2 separate regions of the Homo sapiens genome follow, and region 2 is linked to region 1. The links are contacts of gene promoters, found by promoter capture Hi-C in human tissues and cell types (Jung and others, 2019). All regions are on one chromosome and are shown on one strand. Each heading gives the region's core, a stretch centred on a gene start or on the middle of the fragment in contact. The rest is flanking DNA. Distances are from core to core; before and after follow the strand shown. Region 1 holds the start of SNX22 (sorting nexin 22). Region 2 overlaps HERC1 (HECT and RLD domain containing E3 ubiquitin protein ligase family member 1).

Evidence for each region. Contacts are between HindIII fragments. The study calls those that stand out against the background at their distance.
Region 2: a fragment that was not itself captured here is called in contact with the fragment with the promoter of SNX22 in region 1 in 1 of the 25 tissues and cell types used here (lymphoblastoid cells).

What each region holds. Positions count from the first base shown.
Region 1 is chr15:64,150,312-64,156,012 of GRCh38, forward strand. SNX22 (sorting nexin 22) reads left to right here and starts at 1,420. Exons shown (of 7, transcript NM_024798.3): 1 at 1,420-1,539; 2 at 1,932-2,015; 3 at 2,327-2,431; 4 at 2,934-3,028; 5 at 3,341-3,373; 6 at 3,624-3,691; 7 at 4,076-5,701. The coding sequence starts at 1,465. The coding sequence ends at 4,197. PPIB (peptidylprolyl isomerase B) reads right to left here. Exons shown (of 5, transcript NM_000942.5): 5 at 5,506-5,701. RefSeq lists enhancers at 79-188, 3,116-3,345, 3,369-4,100, 3,846-3,965, 3,976-4,135 and silencers at 1,106-1,545, 1,746-2,125. The HindIII fragment of the contact is 9,247 bases long and covers 1-3,964 here.
Region 2 is chr15:63,795,296-63,800,941 of GRCh38, forward strand. The region is part of intron 1 of HERC1 (HECT and RLD domain containing E3 ubiquitin protein ligase family member 1); the gene reads right to left. Among named protein-coding and RNA genes, the nearest start is that of HERC1, 36 kb to the right of the region's middle. The HindIII fragment of the contact is 4,073 bases long and covers 1-3,592 here.

The DNA of each region.
Region 1 (5,701 bases), core at 170-2,669:
TGCCCACCCCAAGACCTCCCACTACGTATGAGCTTTGGAAGGCAGGGCCTCGCCTCTCTGCATGTCACGGGGCCTTTGTGGGGGAAGTCAGTGGAGTAGAGGACCTGCCATGGTGCTGCTGATAGCAGCTCTCCGACAGCTGAAGGGTGCAGGGCTGAGAGGTGGGAGCAGAGGTCCTTTCCAGCACATGGCCTGAGAGAGTTCTGGATCAAAATCCTGCCACATATCCAGGAAGAACCTGCCCGGAGGGGTGGACAAGAGCAACCCGGTGCCACCCCCCAAAGTCTCTCTTCCCATCCACTGCCCTGTGCCCACTTATCCTAGTCATCCAGGAGAAGCCCACAGTCAAGCTGCTGCTCAATGCTTCTGTTAAGGGCCTAACATGAATCATCTCACTTTTTTTTTTTTTTAAGACAGAGTCTTGCTGTTGCCCAGTCTGGAGTGCAATGGTTTGATCTCGGCTCACTGCAACCTCCGCCTCTCAGGTTCAAGTGATTCTCCCGCCTCAGCCTCCTGAGTAGCTGGGATTACAGGCATGTGCCACCACACCTGGTTGATTTTTGTATTTTTAGTAGGTACGGGGTTTCACCATGTTGGTCAGGCTGGTCTCGAACTCCTGACCTCAGGTGATCCGCCTACCTCGGCCTCCCAAAGTGCTGGGATTACAGGCGTGAGCCACCGCGCCCGGCCAAATCATCTCACTTTATACACTTGCCTGAAGGAGCCACGTTATCCCTATTTTGCAGATGAGCAAAGGTCTACGGAGCTCCTGAAATCCAGGCAGTCTGACGTCCAAATCGGAGTCTAGGTCCCTAAACTGCCTCTTCCCCACAAACAGCCTGGAGCCCCTTAGGGTTGGAAGATATGAGTGAATGGATGGATGAAAACAATGAATGAATGGGGGGGCCTGTGGATGCTGGGGAAAGGGGCATCAAAGCTGGACTGGGTCCAAGCCTTGCTCAGGTGTGGCCTCAGCCGGGGAATCCAGATCACAATTTCAGGGACCAGGCTGAAAGGAGGGAAAGGCTCGGGAAGGGACTGAGGAACCCAAGACAGGTCCCTGGTTGGCCCCAGGACCGGCGCTGAGGCCCGGGCCCCGCCTCCGTCCGCGCCTGGAGCCACAGGCCGTCCTTGGTAGGCGCTTAACTCAGGTTGGGTGACATTTTCGCTCGCCAGTTCCTGGCATCAGTGAGTGCTCCGTCAATGTTTGACAAACGGTTGACTCCACTGCCCCGCGCTGTGGGCGCACTAGACTTCGGGGGCGGCGTCCAGGTCCCGCCTAATCTTCTAGGCTCAGGACCCGCGGCGCAAGGGAACGCCCGGGGCGGGGTCGCCTGGGGGCGGGGCCTGGGGTGGGGCCTGCGGACCGAGGGGGCGGAGCCGGCCGCCCCGGGGTCCTCAGTCCGCTCCGGGAGAGTTAGGGCTCCGAGCCGAGCGCGCGGAGCAGCTGGGGCCGGGGCGCGGATGCTGGAAGTTCACATCCCGTCGGTGGGGCCCGAGGCCGAGGGGCCCAGGCAGAGCCCGGAGAAAAGCCACATGGTGAGCGCGGCCCCTGGATGGGGAGGGGCGCCGGGACCCGCAGGATTTCCCCGCGCTGCGCTCAGTGGGGACCCGGGGCCCGGGCCTGGGTGAACGAGCGCTGCGGGCTGGACCGTCGGGGGAAACCTTGTCGAGGGTTTGGGGGCCGCTTGGATTTGCCAGCCTCGCGGACCATGGTTCGAGCTCTTGAGGGACCCCAGGGCTCCGAGGGGCAGGTCCGCCAGCCGGTTCTCCCAGGTGTGCGGGAGCGGAGAGTCCCCGGGCAGCCGCGGCGCCGCAAGGCCGCTTTGTGCCTTTGAGAGCGGGAGGGTGGGCACGTCGCCAGGCGCAGGTGCTGCGGCGTCCTCCCGCGGGGCCTCACGCGCAGACCCGCTGCCCGCCCGCGCCGCCAGGTGTTCCGAGTGGAGGTGCTGTGCAGCGGGCGCAGACACACGGTGCCAAGGCGCTACAGCGAGTTCCACGCGCTGCACAAGCGGGTGAGGCGGCGCCGACCTCCCACCGGCCCCGGCCCAGCCTCTGTCCAGCCCCCGCCCAGGCCCTGTGAGGCGGGCGGGCGAGCCCCAGCCTCCGCCACCCCCATTACTGCCTCAGTCCCTGCGCAGCCGGTCAGCCCCCGGGCCTCTGTGGGTGGGTTGGGGCCTTCCTCGCCCTCGGCCGGTCCACCACTCACCAGGGTCTGTCCCAGTAGAGCCCGAAGGCGGGGGCGCGGGAGGGCTTCTGGCTGGGGCGAAGAGGGCTTGAGGGCTCAGTCGGGATGCTGTGATCGCACGCGGTAAACCTCCAGTAGATCAAGAAGCTGTACAAAGTGCCCGACTTCCCCTCGAAACGCCTGCCCAACTGGAGGACCAGAGGGTTGGAACAGCGCCGGCAGGGCTTGGAGGCTTACATCCAGGTATGCGAGAGCACAGTTGGTTGCCCCCCGGCCTTCTGTGCCAGGGGTGTGGCCCAGACAGAGAGGTGTGGGGGCATGGCAGGGAGGGAACCCACAACTTGGGGATGTTATTCACCACCTCAAGCATCAATTTTCTGAGTCTAATATAGGTCCAAACACCCCCCTCTGGCTTGTTGAAAGGACTGAAAGAGGTAACGGACACAGGTAGTCCCAGCTCCATGAAACCCAGGTCCTGTCCCCTCCATGGTGAGGTCCTGTGCTGCCCTCCTGATGGCATGTAGGGTGAGGGTCCTTCCCCCAACAGCAAAGCTATGCCGCGTCATGGGGTACAACCTGTGCACACAGCGCCCAGCGCCCAGAAGGGCCCTGAGCCTGGTTCAACGCTCTGCTGTCATTGTCGTGAAATTCTTTTTTTGGAACAAAGAGCCCTGCATTTTCACTGGCACTGCGCTATGCAAATTAGTAGCTGGGTCTGATTGCAGGTCTCCTCTGTCCTCTCCAGGGCATCCTGTACCTGAACCAGGAGGTGCCCAAGGAGTTACTGGAATTCCTGAGACTTCGGCACTTCCCCACAGACCCCAAGGCTAGCAACTGGGGGTAAGGGGGGCCGATGGCGGGGGCCAGGGGCTGTCAGCAGTGAGCAGGTGAGGAAAGGTGTTGGAGGGCAAGCCCTTTCTTTTCACATCTGCCAGGATCCAGCATGACCGCCCTCACCAGCTCTCTTGACCTGGGTGGAGGGGCTTTTTTTTGGACAGACTTGGTTACCCCCGCCACCTCCGGAACTGGGGCTTGTTACAAATAGAAGCAGTGGTCCCCTGGGAGGTGCAGTTCTGGGCTCTGGTGTCTCCACCCCTTCCTCACGCTCCCCCGGCATCCCCAGGCAGCTTACAGTGTTTCTCTTCTCTTCAGCACCCTGAGGGAGTTCCTGCCTGGCGACAGCAGGCAAGTCAAAGCCCTAGCCCGCGCTTGGCCCCTGCTGCCCCCTAGTGGCCATATGCTAGGAGGCAGGCCTGCTGCCTGGGCCTGTCTGGCCTGGGCCCTGAAGTCTGTTTTCCCTTTGGTGCCTCCTGAGCCCATTTCCCACTCACCTTTTCCTTCATGGGTCCCTGGTGATGGCAACCCCGTCTCCACCCCTCTGTGGGATTCTGCCCTGCCTCCCGCACCCATGGTTCATGACCCTGTTTCCTCCCAGCTCCCAGCAGCACCAGCGGCCTGTCCTGAGCTTCCATGTGGATCCCTATGTTTGCAACCCCTCCCCAGGTGAGGAGGTGCCTAGATATGGGGCTACAGGGCTGGGTTGTGGGCTTTGCATTTCTCGGCTCCTGGGACCCTCAGACAGCATCTCCTTCCTGCTGCCCACCTCTGGAGCCACTACCTCCTGCTCCTGTCCCCTGGAGCCTGCTTTGTAGACACAAGGAAAACAAGTTTGGCTTCCCTGGTCTCCATTTCTTCAGCAGCCTGACTTCTTTACCAAGCTGATGTGAAAAGAATGTGACCTGGGAATGCGGAGGCTTCATTTGGGGTGGACAGCTGCTGTCTGCTGCCTTGGCAGGGGCTCCTACTCCCAAGTGGGGGCTGAGCCCATGAGCAGGAGCTCAAGGAGCTGCAGGTCTGAGGCCAGACCTGTTTAATTCTATCCCACAGAGTCGCTGCCCAACGTGGTGGTGAATGGTGTGCTCCAGGGCCTCTACAGCTTCAGCATCAGCCCAGATAAAGCCCAGCCAAAGGCGGCCTGTCACCCTGCTCCTCTGCCACCGATGCCCTGATCAGTCCAGAGGCCTTTGGCTGCCTCCTAAGAAAGTCATGTGCCTCTGTCCTATGAACTCCATATAAGGCTGGGTCCTCCTTTGGCCTGGACCCAGGACTTAATTACCCAGTGCCCAGTTGTGCCACATTCCCACTCAAGGCTCAGAACTTGGCTCGCATTGGTAGCTGGAGGTGGTAGAATTTGTATGCTCTTAGAGCCCAACAGCCAAGGCAGGGTCAAGAAGATAAGTAATAAAAGAGGAAGTCAGCCAGGCGCGGTGGCTCATGCCTGTAATCCCAGCACTTTGGGAGGCCAAGATGGGTGGATCACCTGAAGTCAGGAGTTCGAGACCAGCCTGACCACCATGGAGAAACCCCGTCTCTACTAAAAATACAAAATTAGCCGGGCATTGTGGTGGTGCATGCCTGTAATCCCAGCTACTCGGGAAGCTGAGGTAGGAGAATCTCTTTTTTTTTTTTTTTTTTTTTTTTGAGACGGAGTTTCACTCTTGTTGCCCAGGCTGGAATGCAATGGCACGATCTCGGCTCACGGCAACCCCCGCTTCCCGGGTTCAAGCAATTCTCCTGCCTCAGCCTCTCGAGTAGCTGGGATTACAGGCATCCGCCACCATGCCCGGCTAATTTTTGTATTTTTAATAGAGATGGGTTTCACCACGTTGGCCAGGCTGGTCTTGTACTCCTGACGTCAGGTGATCCACCCGCCTCGGCTTCCCAAAGTGCTGGGATTACGGGCGTGAGCCACCGTGCTCGGCCCAAGGCAGGAGAATCTCTTGAAGCCAGGAGGCGGAAGTTGTGGTGAGCCGAGATCGCGCCACTGCACTCCAGCCTGGGCAACAAGAGTGAAACTCCGTCTCAAAATAAATAAATAATAAAGGAAGAAGTCAGCTGGGTGCAGAGGCTCATGCCTGTAATCCCAATACTTTAGGAGGCCAAGGCAGGAGGATGCTTGGGTCTGGAAGTTTGAGACCAGCCAGCGCAACATAGTGAGACCTGTCTCTACCAAAAAAAAAAAAAAAAAAAAAAAATCAATTTAGAGGTAGGCTATGAAAAAGTACAGATACATCCCTTAACATAGACTGGAGGGTGGTGGCAAGGGGAGCAAATGTGGAGGCCCAGTAGCTGGCAAAGTTTAGAAGCAGGGGGCAAAAGCTCCTGCCTGACTTTTCCTGGGTAGCTCCTGGGTCAAAATTTCAGGCAGGATCCCAGGGAAGGGGCAGGCACCCATTGCCACAGGAGAGTTGCAGGCATGTTGGGATGTAGGCCTAGGGGAGGTGCTGCAGGCTCAAGAACCAGGCCCACACATTATATATTAAAAAAAAAAAAACCCACATTTTTTTTTATTGGTCAGTGTTGGTAGGAGTTTGTTACAAAAGTGAGTCCATGGGCCTGTGGAATGTGAGGGGAGTGGGTCCGCTCCACCAGATGCCAGCACCGGGGCCAGTGCAGCTCAGAGCCCTGTGGCGGACTACAGGGCCTGCACAGACGGTCACTCAAAGAAAGATG
Region 2 (5,646 bases), core at 306-2,805, 350 kb before region 1:
CATTTTGGAAAAAGAAGTTCAAAGTAGATAAAGAGTAGTGATAATTTTAAAATAAAATAACCAATAAAAACAGATTTCAGAAATGTGTATGAGAGATGTTGATAGCACCTAAGATTGCAGAAGTAGAGATAAAATTGAGAGGAAAAAATATCAGTTTAATATAAGAAAATTAACATTTAATTGGAATTTTAAGTGGCTTGATTTTATTTTCAATCAAATAGAAAAGCTCTGATACAAAAGGTTCCTATTTTGAATTACTCTGAAGATATTTCATGTTTGCCCATTTGAACCAGCAGTATGTTTGAAATGCTTGTTCCCTGGTGCCACAAAGAAATAGCACTTGAACATAAATTTAATTTACTCAGCAAGGCCATTTTTATACTTTCTGCAGAAAGGGTATACTCGCCAGCAGTTCTGCCACGAGAGTACACCGAACAAAAGAGACAGGGTCATTTATAATCTCACGCGTCCACCCTACTGCTGTGTCCAGTTTCCACTGGCTGGAACGGGACCTGACATTCTGTATTTGTCCCGACTGGCTAGCAACTCAGAACTTTTTAAAAGAGGCAAAGGCAGAGGAGAATCAAGGAAGCAGGAAGTTAACTTGTGGAATGCTGAGAAAGGTAAAAATACCTTTAAATAAGGAAGAGGAACAGGCTACGACCTAATGCTTGCTTGAACCAGTATAAGCATGCCAGGGCAAATATTTAGGCTAAATTGTGGGAGCTAAGAACATAAAGTACATTGATTTCTTTATCACAGCTAGCAGATTTTTAAGAATGTTAGCACAGGTCTTTAAATAAATTTTGCTTCTAAGAGAAGTTACTATTTATTCCTAGTTAAATAGGGAGGAAAATCTTTGAAGAGGAACCTTTATTTTTTACAAGTAGAATAAATTAATTATATTTTTTAAACTAAATTTAGTCCACTACTAAAGGGTATCATCCCTTAAGTCCATATGCCAACATATTTTCCAACAGTTACATCTTCTGCAACTTTTAATAAGTTTCTATTTCATTTAATATGTGGATAAGGGTACTACTGAAATGTGACTAAATTCAGTAGTTTCTAATGTAAATTCTAAATTAAAACTTAAACTCACAAAACTGAAACCATCTTTGCAAAATTATGACAGTAAGAGAAATTTGACACAGTTAAGTCCATTTCGCTTCTAACCTCCATCATCGATCATTCCGGGGTGTAGACTGTAAACCAAAAATAGCTGAGTTAGGTCTCAATCAATTTAGAAAGTTTATTTTGCCAAGGTTAAGGACATGCCTGTGATACAGACTCAGGAGGTCCTGATGACATGTACCCAAGGTGGTCAGGGACAGCTTGATTTTATACATTTTAGGGAGACATGGGATATCAATCAATACTTGTAAAATGTCCATTGATTCAGTCCAGAAAGGCTGGACAACTTGAAGCAGAAGCTTTCAGGTCATAGATACATTGAAAGGTTTTCAGATTGGCAATTGGTTGAAAGAATTATTATCTAAAGAAAGAAATGTCTGTGTTACAATAAAGGGTTATGGAGACCAAGGTTTTATCATGCAGATGAGGCCTCCAGGTAACAGGCTTCAGAGAACAGATTGTAAATGTTTCTTATCAGACTTAAAGAGTCTTGTTCTATCAGTAATTCCAAAAGAGAGGAGGGTATTATGAGGCATATCTGGCTCCCCCTTTCCATCATGGCCGGAACTAGTTTATCAGGTTAACTTTGGAATGCTTGCTGAGAGGAGGGGGCCATTCAGATGGTTAGAGAGCTTAGAATTTTATTTTTAGTTTACAAGACCAAGCTGATTTTCAGAGAAATTTATAGTTTGACCTTAAAGCAAGGATGATAATAACCTTTCCCAAAACTAAACCACCTTCATAAAACTAATGAAAGGCCACAAGGTTAGGATTATGAGAGGGGCCTGAATTCTGCTAAGGTGTAGGCATAGTTTCTATCATCCCTTACTGCTCAGGAGTCATATGGCTAGAGGTCACAAGACAAGTATAGCTTCTTCTATCATTCCTTACTGTTCAGGAGTCATGTGGCCAAGGGTCACAATATTTGTCACTTCCTCAATTACTCTTATAGAGAAAATCATTATAATAGAATCTAAGATTGGTTTTTTTGTGTTATCTTTCAGAATGACCCCACCTGGACTCCTGCCTCAAGACTTAACATCCTGTGGCCCTATGCAGAGGCAGACTCATCACACCAGGACTGTTTTTCACACTCCAATCATTTTTTTTTCCCTGACCAATCAACATTCCCCATTCCCTAGTCCCCCACCCATCAAACTATCCTTGAAAACCCTAAACTCCAAGCCTTTGGGGAAATACATCAATTTGAATAATAACTCTGTCTCATGCATGGCATGGCCAGCCTCCTGTCAATTAAACTCTTCCTTTACTGCAATGTAGTGGTCTCTGTTAATTGATTTTGTCTGCGCAGCAGGCAGGGAAAACCTGTCAGGAGATTACAAAATGTTTACTGTATACCTATGAGATTTCAGAACTTCAACTGAATTATCACAAAAATCCGTAAGATAGTTATTAATAACATAAAACAATTTTCAAAAAATTAAACAGTACAACAAGATTACATGCAAGGTGAATGGCAGAGTCAGGATGTGAATATAAGTCCCCAGATTCTGAAGTCCAGTGCTATTTTCACTGCCCCATAATATCACTCCCTGGAAAAATTAACTCTAAATGTTGAGTGGATGTGAATGAGAATCAAGTGTTAGAACTTGTCAAAACACACATGTCCAAGTCCCCAGCCCCACCCAACCTCACTAAAGCACTTATTTTAGAGAAGTGTGACACTACCACCTGCTACTTCTCCCTTCAACCCCAGAATCAGTGCTTTAGGATAAAATTTAACTGAAAATTCTCTCCTTGCTGTAGCTTCCTTATTCAGCTCCCTGATAGCAGGTTCTCCCCAGTTCTAGTGTATCCTCCATCTTTCTACAAACCAAAATCTGATGTTACTCCCTTAGTGAAAACCCCAAATGACTACTCAGTGCTTAACCAGTTAAAGACTAATTACTTTTAACCAACAACTGCCTCTTTACAATCAGGAATTAAAGTGTTTTCCAGGTAATTTTCTTCTACCCTCTCCCACCTACGTAACAGACACTTAAGAAAATCTTACAAGTTCTTAAAACCACCAAGTCATTCCAAGCCTTCAAACCACTGCTTCTATCCTCTTCTCCTTCACTTACTAAAGTCCTTCCTCTTCATATCTTCAAACTTTACAAAAAAAAAAAAAAAACCTTACAGGGCTTTTCAGAACTTGAAAACTAGTGCTTTCTAATTCTCTAACAGGATACCTCTCACTTTGACCTACAATTATTTAGGATTGTCACTCCCCTAACAGATAATGCACTCACTCCTCACTGTGAGGAATGGATTCCACCTTATTTTAATTCTCTGCCATACAACCTAGACCATCATAGTGTTTGTTAAATTAACTAATTAATTACTACTAGTTTCTACATTTAAATATTTTTGGCTACCAAAATGGTAACTCATAGGTATATTAAGGTCAGTTTTTTATACGCCCTAAGCATTTAGTGGTTGCATACTATTTCTTACTTCAGTGGATTTATAAATAAGATATTTTACCATCAGGTTTGGGGGTGTCCCAATTCCAAACTCAAAGCAAAAAGGGCACAAATAATTTCTTTTTTAAAAAAGAAGTTGACTTTTTTAAAGCGTCATCTCTGGGCTTACTTTTTAAGATACGTTTCAGAACTAGGTCATACTTGCACATTTAATTTTCAGACAAGTTAACTTCAAATCAGTCAATGACACGGAGTTGTTCAACAAAATTATAAACTCTGTAGCTTAGCAGAGACACCCTCTTCTGCCTATCTCTTTCCTCAGTTCAGTTCTGATACTTAAGGCTTTAACAAAAAGTAGCTATTGGCCAGGCACAGTGGCTCACGTCTGTAATCACAGCATTTTGGGAAGCTGAGGTAGAAGGATCAGTTGAGCCCAGGAGTTTGAGACCAGCCTGGGAAATATGGCAAAACCCTGTCTCTCCAAAAATTAAAAAATTAGCCAGGCATGGTGGCTTGCACTTGTAGTCCCAGCTACTCAGGAGGCTAAGGTGGGAGGATCACTTGAGCCCAGGAGGTCAAGGCTGCCGTGAGCTATGATCGTGCCACTGCACTCTAGCCTGGGTGATAGAGCAAGACTCTGCCTCTAAAAAAAAAAAAATAGAAAAAGAAAAAGAAAAATATTGATCCTTTCTGCCAGTATCCAAAGGAGGCAATGATCTACAAAACCCCTGGAAGAAAATTATGATCTCCATGGGTAGTAGTGGAGATCAGTTATTAAGGGACTAGGCTTTGAAAGCAAAGAAAAATATAGAATTTGAGGAAAAGACAGAAGATGGAAAATGATAGGACAATAAAATGCCAAAAAATAATGGCAAACACTTAACAAGGATAGCTGCAAGCAAAACTAAAATTGCAGAGAACCCAGAAAGGAGTCAGAGAAATTCTCTAAGCAGGTTTCAGGAGCCATTCCTAAATCAGACTCAAGGTACTCTAAAACATGGCCAGGTGCAGTGGCTACCATCCATAATCCCAGCATTTTGGGAGGATCACTTGAGGCTAGGAGTTTGAGACCAGCCTGAGCCTGCGCAACAGTGTGAGACTCCATCTTTACAGAAAAAAATATTTTTAGTTAGCCAGATGTGGTGGTATATGCCTGTAGTCCTAGCTACTGGGGAGGCTGAGGCAGGAGGATCCCTTGAGCCACAGGAGGTCAAGGCTACAGTGAGCTGTGATCATGCCACTGCACTTCAGCCTGGGTGACAGTGAGACCTAGTCTCTTAAGAAAAAAAGAAGAAGAAAGAAACTGGGGTATGGGGAAATATTCTCTCCACTAATGCATTTGTTAATATTTTTCTGTAATAAAAAGTTAATGAAGTCTGTTTCAAAGGGGAAGAGTTTAAAATTTTTCTGAAGAATAGGTTTACTCTAAAGAACAAAATCTCTCCTCTGACAAGAAGGCCAAGAACTGACCTCTCCCCTTGCTCTCTCTTCTATAGACGCCTGAGATCCTTAACTCCTGGAAGGCACTATGCTCCTTTGTATTTCAGGAACTTTGCACAGGCAGTTCTCTTTATTTAGAGCCTGCCTTCTCCATTCCATCCTCTTTCACCCAGTTAATGTTTAGTCACAAGATATCAGTTTAAACAGTACAGTACCAGAGATATTAATTAGGTACTCAGTAACAGTATCACTAGCTGAATTAAATGTCACTTCCTCTGGGAAGGTATCCCTGACTATACCCATGTGAGATTAGGTCTCTCCCAAAATGTTCACACAGCATCCAGTACTTTACCTTCATAGCACCTTGCATGGTTTGCAATTATATATAATTTGTGCGATTTGTTTAATGTCCATTTGTGGCATAAGAAATACATACTTGGTGTTCGTAATTTCCTTTGTGATAGGGGAATAGGAGCATCTTTTGTTATTCGTAACAAGCCCCTTTCAACCATACCTGAGTTTATGCTAATGAGGTGACTCTTAGTGGGCCCTTAGATAGCTTCAGGATGAAGGCTGGTTGCCAGAGAAACCAACCAAGTGATAAAAGTGTTGGAACTTTCAGTTCCACCACCAGACCTCAAGGGAG